Linked DNA regions of Homo sapiens: region 1 is linked to region 2. Evidence: promoter capture Hi-C in 16 types of primary human blood cells and fetal thymus (Javierre and others, 2016). All regions are on one chromosome and are shown on one strand. The core of a region is centred on a gene start or on the middle of the fragment in contact, and the rest is flanking DNA. Distances in the headings are between cores, read along the strand shown.

The links. Contacts are between HindIII fragments. The CHiCAGO score rates a contact against its expected background, and 5 or more counts as called.
Region 1: a contact is called between a fragment that was not itself captured here and the fragment with the promoter of USF3 in region 2, in 4 of 17 cell types (fetal thymus, megakaryocytes, naive B cells and 1 more). The highest score is 8.5, in fetal thymus.

Annotation. Positions count from the first base shown.
Region 1 is chr3:113,494,607-113,499,785 of GRCh38, forward strand. SPICE1 (spindle and centriole associated protein 1) reads right to left here. Exons shown (of 18, transcript NM_144718.4): 4 at 4,833-4,976. It overlaps SPICE1-CFAP44 (SPICE1-CFAP44 readthrough (NMD candidate)), which reads right to left. Exons shown (of 52, transcript NR_183050.1): 4 at 4,833-4,976. Among named protein-coding and RNA genes, the nearest start is that of SPICE1, 18 kb to the right of the region's middle. The HindIII fragment of the contact is 178 bases long and covers 1,181-1,358 here.
Region 2 is chr3:113,694,059-113,699,026 of GRCh38, forward strand. It overlaps USF3 (upstream transcription factor family member 3), which reads right to left and starts at 2,584. Exons shown (of 7, transcript NM_001009899.4): 1 at 2,312-2,584. RefSeq lists silencers at 1,915-2,304, 2,325-2,794. The HindIII fragment of the contact is 8,785 bases long and covers 1,646-4,968 here.

The DNA of each region.
Region 1 (5,179 bases), core at 20-2,519, 200 kb before region 2:
ACTGCACTCCAGCCTGGGCGACAGAGCGAGACTCCGTCTCAAAAAAAAAAAAAAGAAATATTCACAATTGTGACCCACCACATTTACATACACATATACAAAATAAAAGTTTTAATTAAATAAAAAGTTAATTAAAATAAAAGTTTTAATTAACCTTGCTCCATGAGAACCACTGATATTTTCTTGTTAATTTCTATTCTATTTTTTAAATGTTGGCAGCAACTCACTTCACAATTCATTAACAAATTATAATCCATAGTTTGAAAAACACAGATGAAAGATATGAATCTTTGAGCCATAAACTTAGAGGTGTTTCAACCACTAGAGTGAATTCAGAATCCACTAATGTAATCCACTAATGTGTCAAGTCATGACCTACAACTTTAAAAACATGACATAAGATATGAGTTTTAGCATTAAACAAAAAATGTGAGGCCTCTGTGTTTAAAAACAAATCAGTTTTTTACCCTGGAGAGGTAAGAACACAAAAAGTAACATTACAGTAGTGCCTCTGGATTATGCACTTTCAACTTAGGAACTTTCATAATTAAAAGTAAGGCCACAGGCTAGAGTAAAAGCCAGATAATTCTCTCGGCACCACCACCAGATGGCATTCTCAAGTTAAAAAGTACCTGGAAACTGCTCAGTTTCCAACACTTGACTCAAATTGATAAAATATCTGATAACAAATACTCTTACCAGAATTTCTCTATACTACAGAATCAAATACATACACAATGTGACCTCAGTTATTGTTTTAAGACACAGAAAGAAAAATAGCAAGAGTCACATTCTTAATTTTTCCCCTTCTTCCCCGGCTATAGCCAAGCAGGTTGGCTGACTCAGTGAGAAGAAAGCCCTGAATTTATTCCTTCTACAAAGAGTAAGCTTTGGAATGGTATCAGGTCAAGAGCACATCAGACCCAGAAGACTGAGAGTCCAGTCCCAGTCAACAACCCTTCCCCAGCCCCACAGGGGTGGTAGATGGATATGGAAACACTGAAAACCTATATACCACTCTAGAGATGTTTCAGAATTTTGCTATAACTTAAATTATATTATCCCACAAACCAAATTTCTATTCTTACTTAGCCGTCTTGCAAGTACAAGGAATTATGAGCTTAGGAAAGAATGTGAATGAATGAGTATAATCTTTCACTATACCAGAAAAATTACACAAAGCTTATTTCCTAATAATAATTTTAAGAGTTTACTATTTTTTAAAAGCATTGACCTATCAAAATAAAGAGATGGAATTGACACATGAAGATTATAATCTTATAACCATATTGAGACCTGATATTGATTATAATGAGGTCTCATGTAAAAACCATTATCTGTCACCTTCTGCTAGTCCAAGCTTGTCCAACCTGTGGCTCAGGATGGCTTTGAATGTGGCCTAACACAAATTTGTAAACTTTCTTAAAACATTATGAGATTTTTTTTTTACAACTTTTTTTTTTTTTTTTTTTTTTTTAGCTCATCAGCTATCATTAATGTTAGTTTATTTTATGTGTGGCCCAAGACAATTCTTCTTCTTCCAATGTGCCCCAGGGAAGCCAAAAGACTGGAAACCCCTGTTTAGTCCCTGCCCTTGGGAAAAATGGTTTGAGTGATCAAAGATCAGTGTATTGGCTTTTACTTCTTCTTTCTAGATTTATAACTCCTCTCATAAAGCCCATCCATTTGACAGGTAAACTGATCTCTACAAGCCTAACTCTATCTATTACTCCTCAAATGAGTTTGCAGAGCACAAACTTAAACCTGTAAGTGGTGGTACACATGTTGGATTTTCAAAGGATCCCAGTCTCTACAAAAAAAAAGACATTATCAGAAACTCGTCATCTTAGCCCTTTTGTACCACAGTAAAAGACATGAGGTAGAATTGGGAAATTACAAAGAGGCTTTAGGAGTTATTACATTTTGGGGATTTATAAGATCTTTTTGAAAGCCTCTCCATGAGTGAGAGGGAACCCTAATTTGCTTGATTCCCATGGCATGGGTACATCTTACAGCAAATGAAATCTAAGATTATGCTGGCCAAAGAGCTTTCTCTTAATTTATGTTAATCTGGGAGTCCAGCTTCAGGTGGATGGGTCCTGTTAGCTTTAATACATAATGATGAAGCTTATGTGAATATGTCTAAGGAGGCTTCTTCCTTTGGTCCACTGCATCCCTTAAACAGAGACGTTGCAAATTTACCAACATTGAAATAAAAGATGCACATATCCATTGACTAAGCAATTCTACTTTTAAGAATTTATCCTGAAAATATACTTACATGTGTACCCAAAAACATTTTCAAGGATATTTATTACATTATTGATAGTAGCAAGGTAGAAGACAATCTGTGGGTAACTGACAGTACTACTTAAGTATCCAGCAATGTTCTTTTGGTTTCTCCTTTAACAGCAGAACTCCTGCATTTTAGCCAATTACATAGCTAGATTTCCCAACCATCTTTGTAAGTGGGAATGGCCATGTGATGACTTTCTGGCCAACAGGATATATGCCAGAACTTCTGGGTGACATGTAATAGGAGTAGCATGCACTGTTCTTCCTGTTTCCTGCTGGCTGGCATATAGCTGAATGAAGCTGCTATGGCCATTTTGTATTCAGAGACAGAAGCTGTGTAATAAAGGACTGCAGAGTTCCCTACCAGCTACCACTTTCCTCTCAACTGTTTAATAAACAGAAACAAATTTGTTTGTTTAAAGCAAAACATATAGGAGGGTATTTTTTTATTTCCAGAAGCTTAAACTATACTCTAACACACAACCTAAGTGTTCACCAATAAAGCACAGGATAAATAAATTGTGGTACATCTATATGCTAATGGCCATCAAAAAGAAAAGGTAGATGTCTAAGCACTGACAGGAAATTATCCCAAGATATGCTGGTAGAGAGAAAATACCTGAATCCTGATGAGAGCTGAGGTGCTCAACCCCTGCAGCACATTCAAATTACATAGGAACTGTCTAAAAAACACCTACATGGGGCCACATCCTAGGTCAACTAAATCTGAATCTCTGGGTATAGAGTCCAGATATAGTTATATATATATGCATACATACATAGAGAGAGAGAGAGAGAAAGAGAGCTTTTTTTTTTTTTTTTTTTTTTGAGACAGAGTCTCACTCTGTTGCCCAGGCTGGAGTGCAGTGGCACAATCTCAGCTCACTGCAACCCGGATTCAAGCGATTCTCCTGCCTCAGCCTCCTGAGTAGCTGGGACTACAGGCACCTGCCACTGTACCCAGCTAATCTTTAGGGCTTTTTTTTTTTTTTGGTTTTGCTGTTGTTGTTTTTGAGACAGGCTGGAGTGCAATGGACCAATCTCGGCTCACTGCAACCTCCGCCTCCCAGGTTCAAGCAATTCTCCCACCTCAGCCTCCCAAGTAGCTGGGATTACAGGCACCCGCCATCATGCTCAGCTAATTTCTGTATTTTTGTAGAGATGGGGTTTCACCATGTTGGCCAGGCTGGTCTTGAACTCCTGACCTCAGGTGATCTGCCCGCCTTGGCCTCCCAAAATGCTGGGATTACAGGCATGAGCTGCCACACCCAGCTGTTATATATTTTTTTAATGGAGCTTCTTGACCCTGACTGATTCTAATGTGCAGTGAGAGTTGAGAACCACTATACTAGTGCCTGAGGCAGCAGATCTACAAAAAGAAGGCAAAGAAACATCACTCATCGTCTCTCACCACCCTTCTTTAAACACCTACTTCTACCACATCTATAACTTGTATGAGAAATTCAGGACATGAGCAGGAACCACTAGAGAAAGGAAAATAAGCCCAGAGTCTGATGCAATCCAAGCAGGCTGCCTTTTTTCGTGGTGAGATCTGTGTTTTTAGGCCTTTCACTGAGAATTACCCCATAACATTTAAATGTATGCGACTTGTCCAAGATCACCAAAAGATACTTACCTGTAAAGAAGCATTCTCTCAATCAAGCCACTGTTCTTTTCTCAAGCTCATGTAAACATTTATTTGGGAGATATTATTCTTCCTGATGATGTCTAAGACTGAGACTTTATTTCAATAAGAAGCCTAACAAATTCCTCAAAAGAAAATGTATGATTCAAAGCTGCCGTGAAAGGTCAGACAGCTAAGTGCTGTACATAAGCTTCAATATGAACAAGGAGCAACACTACAGACAAAGCACATTCCTTCACAATGACTTCAGCTCAAATTTAAAAAGGTTATTTGCTGTAGTTTCCTCTTATTTCCCATATTGTTTATCCCTACATATCTGATTACTTATCTGAACACCCCACGTCTGGCAAAAGGTTAAGCCAAAGACAAGTTGCTTATTACTCAGTTGGACAAGCATACAACATCATTTTTTTTTCAAAGTAACCTAACAGCACTGCTGTTAAACTGAGAAAAATAATTATAGCAGCTTATATATAAAAAGAGGAATAAGAAAAGATTGTGCTAATCACTTTACTGAGAAAAATTATTATAGCAGCTTATATACAAAAAGAGGAATAAGCAAAGATTGTGCTATTCACTTTGTAAGTATTATATCACTGAAATCTCATAGCAATACAAGCAAATAATAATTTTAAATATGAGAAAATTCAGGCTGAAAAGTTAAATAATTTACTTAGGGTCACACAGCTGGTAAGTAGTAGAACAGGAATTCAAACCACCAAACCAGACTCCAGTCACCACTCTGTTGCTTTTTTTGAAGTCCACATGTAGATTATTGAATAAGAATGCAGTGATTACTAGAGTCTCTCCAACGTGAATCAAATTGAAGAAAAACAAAGAACCCTATTTATCTCCTTTTTTTCTTTCTAACTCTAATGCAGTTTAGCATTACCTCCTTCATGATAGACAATCTTCTTTTCTCAAGATTTAAAGTTTCTGGTTTCTGCTTCCTCCATTTTCTCTTCAAAGCTTTTTCTTGGAGTTCCCAGTGTACTAATGCTCTATTCTTCGATTTGTGTATTTCATGACGGCGTACCTATACAGAAGAGAAAAGTACATAAAGGAATGTTTCAGACACAAAGAAGTTGCCTATTCAGATGATGAGATCACCTACTCTAGTTCATCACTTTTTAAACTTTTTCTGGTCCAATATGTGCATGTTTATATATATTCATAGCCAAAATTTTCAGTCCCCTAAATTTTCAAAAATGATCTTAAAGAAAGCAGTATATAGAACTG
Region 2 (4,968 bases), core at 1,334-3,833:
AAAATAAGAGAGTTTCTGAGGGAAGTGGCCTGGGCATTAAAACTTAAAGACACACAAGGTGATGCTCATGTACAGTCTGGATTGAGAACTACTGGACTAGAGAACAGAGAGGTAAAGCATGACAGATATGATTAAGGCTCAAGCTTGATTTAAGACCCTGTTTATAAGCAACAAACTTGAGCTGATTACCTGTTGAAGCTTGTATTCTAACCTGAGTTAAAAATTCTCAGTTTTCTTAGTGTTTCTTTTCCCTTGTTGACAAGGCTAAGCTCTGAAAATAGGAAAAGTACCCATCAATTTCTCATACATGACTGGTTCATTGAGTGTAAGGTCTACAACCTTAGAATTTTACTTCCACGATGTTCCATAGACGACTAACCTAGAAGATAAGTACTTCAATTCTAAGCTGCTCTTACATCCCTGCAATGCACTCCTTTTATATCAGCGAATGTTCTAGGCTGCATCCAGATTTTGCAAAACTCCTAAATACAGGGAGATCCCAATACCTATGTACACCTAAGTCTTTTAGCTTAGACCAGGAGTGTCCAATCTTTTGACCTCCCTGGGGCACACAGGAAGAAGAAATGTCTTGGGCCACCCATCAAATACACTAACACTAACGATAGCTGATGAGCTTAAATAAATAAGTAAATAAATATCACACACAAACATCTCATAATGTTTTAAAAAGTTTACAAATTTGAGGCCGGGCGCAGCGGCTCATGCCTGTAATCCCAGCACTTTCGGAAACAGAGGCAGGCGGATCACCTGAGGTCAGGAGTGCAAGACCAGCCTGGCCAACATGGAGAAACCCTGTCTCTACTTAAAGAAATAAAAATTAGCTGGGCTGGTGGCATGCACCTGTAATCCCAGCTACTCAGGAGGCTGATGCAGGAGAATTGCTTGAACCCAGGAGGCGGAGGTTGCAGTGAACTGAGATAACACCACTGCATTCCAGCCTGGGCGACAGAGTGAGACTCTGTCTCAAAAAAAATAAAAGAAAGTTTACGAACTTGTCTTCTTGTCTTGGGCCGCATTAAAAGCCGTCCTTGGACGGGGGTTGGAAAAGCTTGGCTTAGGCTAAAGCAAAACTGCTTTAGGATTAAGCATTCATTCTTGCATGGATACATTACACTACTTCTGCTTTCAGAAGTGCAATTACAATGTATTTTACTTCTTTTGTAACAAATACTTTGAGTACTTAAAGAGAAACAACACATGTATCCCAAACAGCAACTCTGTACTATGTTAAACAAGAGTTCTATGGGAGAGAAAAAAGTCATCAAGGTGAATGGAGAGTAGGACAGCCTGTTGATCCTTCAAAAGGCAGGTTTGTCTGTTTGGTTTTCTTTACAAAAGAGCAAACCTGGGAATATGTTTCAGGATCCATGTAACTCACCGTAAGATTTATTCAAGAAATCTGTACGTTGTTTATAGGTAAGGAAATGTCTTCTTTGCCTACACAGTTGGCCACGACTGTCTTGATCTGTGTGGTGTTAGGTTACTGTATCTACTTGATGGTAAAAATGTTACAAGAACGGAAGTTGAAATTCTGCACTTTGGTTTATGCAGTCTCATATTTCCAGATAAAGTTAATAAACGCAAAGGACCATATCCCAATGTAACGAGGAGGGTTGGGAGGACAAGCTTCAAGAACGAGTGGGGTGAATTCAACTATCAAAATTGTAAACATGAACAAGAGTCCAGGAATCTTATATTTCATCCGGATACATGAAAGTAGATTTCAAGAGTTGGTCATTCACTTGCACTGCTTCTACTCAGAAAGCAAAAGAACGGCTTCTAAAAAGAAAACACAAGCCTAACACTTCGACAGAGGGGTGAGAGGGAAAAAGCAAGCCACATGAGTCTGACGAACGGGTACGAAAGAAATTCAGAGGGCAAGGAAAGAAGGGGAATGAAGAAGACAGGAAAAGGTGAAGGAGGCGGGCAAAGGCCATCTGGTGTGAACCTGGCTGCCCAGCTCTTTATGCACCCAGGGCAGCGTGGGGCCCCTCTCGCCCCGCGCGCATCTAGGAGCTGGGGCGCAGTGCGAGCCCCCCACGGGCCTGGCAGCCGGGGACGCAGGGCGGGCGGGAGATGAGGGGTGCGCTCGCCGCGGGCGCTGACGCCCCACCAGGTGCCGCACGCAAGGGTCCCCAGGAAGGAGGCGCACTTAGCGCAGCCCTGGCCTCCCGGAGCAGGAAGGGGGTGGGTGGAGCTGAGCCCGGGGCCGCCCTCCGGAGCCGCCCCCGCAGCCCTGGCCCCCGCCCCCCGCCCCGGCTGTCAGCGGCCCCCTCCCGCAGTCACTTACCCGCCGGCTGCGCGGTCTCGGCCGCGGTGGCGGCGGCGACGGCGGCGACCCCCGCCTGGGTCATGATCCCAGGAGGGGAAGGCAGGAGTGTCTGACCGTCTGGGCGAATCTCTCCGTCCGCGGCCACCGCCTGCTCCTCCGGGGCTGGGGGAGCGCGGGCCCAGGCCCTCCTCTCCCCCCGCCCCCGCCGCCTCTTTTTGCGGCCACCGCAGCCGCTGCGAGCCCGAGCCCTCAAGGCCGGAGACCCGGCGGCAGCGCGGCCTCAACTTTCCCAGCCCCCCTCCCCCCGCCCCTCCCCGCCCCTCCCGCGGCCGCAGCTCAGCAAGCGAACAGCCTACCCTGGGCGCGCCGCGTTCCCGCCTCTTTCACTCAACCCGCCAATCAGGCTGCGGGAACGCTGCCGTGGTAGCCAATAAGAAGACAGAATGCCGTTGCACTACGCTAGAGGGCGGGAGGAGGCGGAGAGGAAACCAAGGAGTGAACGGGGATCGGGCGGCCCAATGAGGAGGGCCGGGGGGCGGAGGTGTGCAAGTTGGGTTGAAGAAACAGGAAATATTCTTAAAGGTAGAGTGACGGACAGGAAGGAAAGCCAGTAGGTGAATGGGAAAGAGGTGGGCCTGGTTCCTTAAAGGGGACGCCTTGAGAACCTAGAAAAGAAGGTGTTTTAAGAAACTTCTTTGTATCTTCTTCTGTGGTCTCTTTTCTTCGTCTTTCGGTAGGAGTTTGGAAGTGGAAAAATTGAAAAGGAAGAGGGCACGGAAGTCTTTCGGAATAGTTAGCCCCTCTTAACGTGGAGGGCAGGAAGGTGAGAAGATACGTCTTAGTAAATGTGGAGAAGAAAGAATCAGACGTTTCCGACTTCTCGATAACTGGAAGATTGTTGCTGACTTGACGCTGCTCGCATTCGTAGGCTGTGGTCTCTTGTCATCCTTTATTTGCAACAACACACAGATTTCTGTGAATTGGAGATGGCCATGTTCAGAAATGCCCTGGGGGCCTCCCAGCTGGGACAAGGGAGTTTGGCATTGGGGGATGGGGTTTGAGATCTCAAGCCTGGGTTACTAAATACCTGGATCTAGGAGAGGTAGGGCCAGGGGTCACGAAATGGAGACCTGAGTGCCCCTTAACTCCAGGATCTGTGTGGAGCCCTTGGAACCGTGATCACAACTCCCTCTTCCTAGTTTCGCTTCATATTTTATAACCTCCTGCTGAAACAGGTGTCCTCCACCTAGTTGCGGTTATAGATTTCCAAGCCCTTCCACAACCAGATTTGGAAATATCCCAGATCTTAGATGTCCGTGGGCTAACTTCCAGAAGGTGCACACAGGGCATGGCATAATGGGAATTACTTGAGCCTGTATACAGAAGCAGCAGACATCGCATTGAGCAAAAGGGTAAAGGCTAACAGTAACGGAGTCTTATGTTTGTACAGCAGATTGAAAAGCTATGATGAAACGGAAGGCCTGTAATGTTGCTTATAAACTGTGGTACTAATAAACAGGCTAGAAATTTTCTTTAACTCATCCATCTAGGCACACGAAGTTCTAATTAGCCTTTGAACAGACTTGGCACATCCAAATCAAAACTGCAGATAAGAAAGATTCTACGAGTCAGAGCCATAATAGCAATGCTAATAACATCACCATAAAATTGTATAGTATTGGTATGCTCAGCCATAGGAAACAATTTCCAGTGTGTTCAGAATACAAGGTATTTCTCGTTAACAAATATCATATCCAGGGTGTGCATGATTTCCTAAACAACTGCAATGCATCAATTCTAAAGTAAAAACAAATAGTTTTGATGATTCATGAAACAGAATTTAACCATTCCTTTAGATCACCTTTAAAAAATACACATTAATATATTTCTGGCACGATATAGACGTAGAAAAGAAGAACAATTTCCGTTTGATAAAGATCAGAATATTAGCTTTTTAAATTAATCCTTATTACCTAAGTGTAGCCTAAATCCCAAACAGGGATTTTTCTCTTTTCTTTTCTTTTTCTTTTCCTTTTCTTCCCTTTCCCTTTCCTTTCCTTTCCTTTGTTTTCCTTTCCTTTCCTTTGTTTTCTTTCTTTTCTTTTTTCCTGCGACAGGGTCTCCCTCTGTTGCCAAGGCTGAAGGTCAGTGGCACTGTAACAGCTCACTGCAGCCTCCACCTCCCAAACTCAAGCGATCCTCCCACCTCAGCCTCCCAAGTAGCTGGAACCACATGCCCGGCAATTATTTTTTTCTTTTGGATAGAGATGGGGGTCACATTATGTTGCCCAGGCTGATCTTCAACTCCTGGGCTGAAGCCCAGAGATCTTTTTTTTTTTTGGCTTTACCCATTCAACATCAGTTTCAGATAATCACACCAGTCCTATTTTCAAACTAGCTGGCAGTGCTTACAGTGACCTATATTGGTGGTAAAATATACTGGCCAAGTGAAACTGGTCTATAGGGCTGTTAGTTCATTTTTTTCAAGTGGACAGAGTGAATCTGATTTTCACCCACATTCTTGAGACTTTTCAATGGTGCTGAAAGACTATTTGCATGATATATAAGTACTTCCTTGCATCCCCAGTTTCATATCAAGACCTCCGTTTTTTCCTACTACTGGAGATGAGTGACTGCGGGAGGAGGCTACTGAAAGCCTGGGGCGGCGGCCAGAG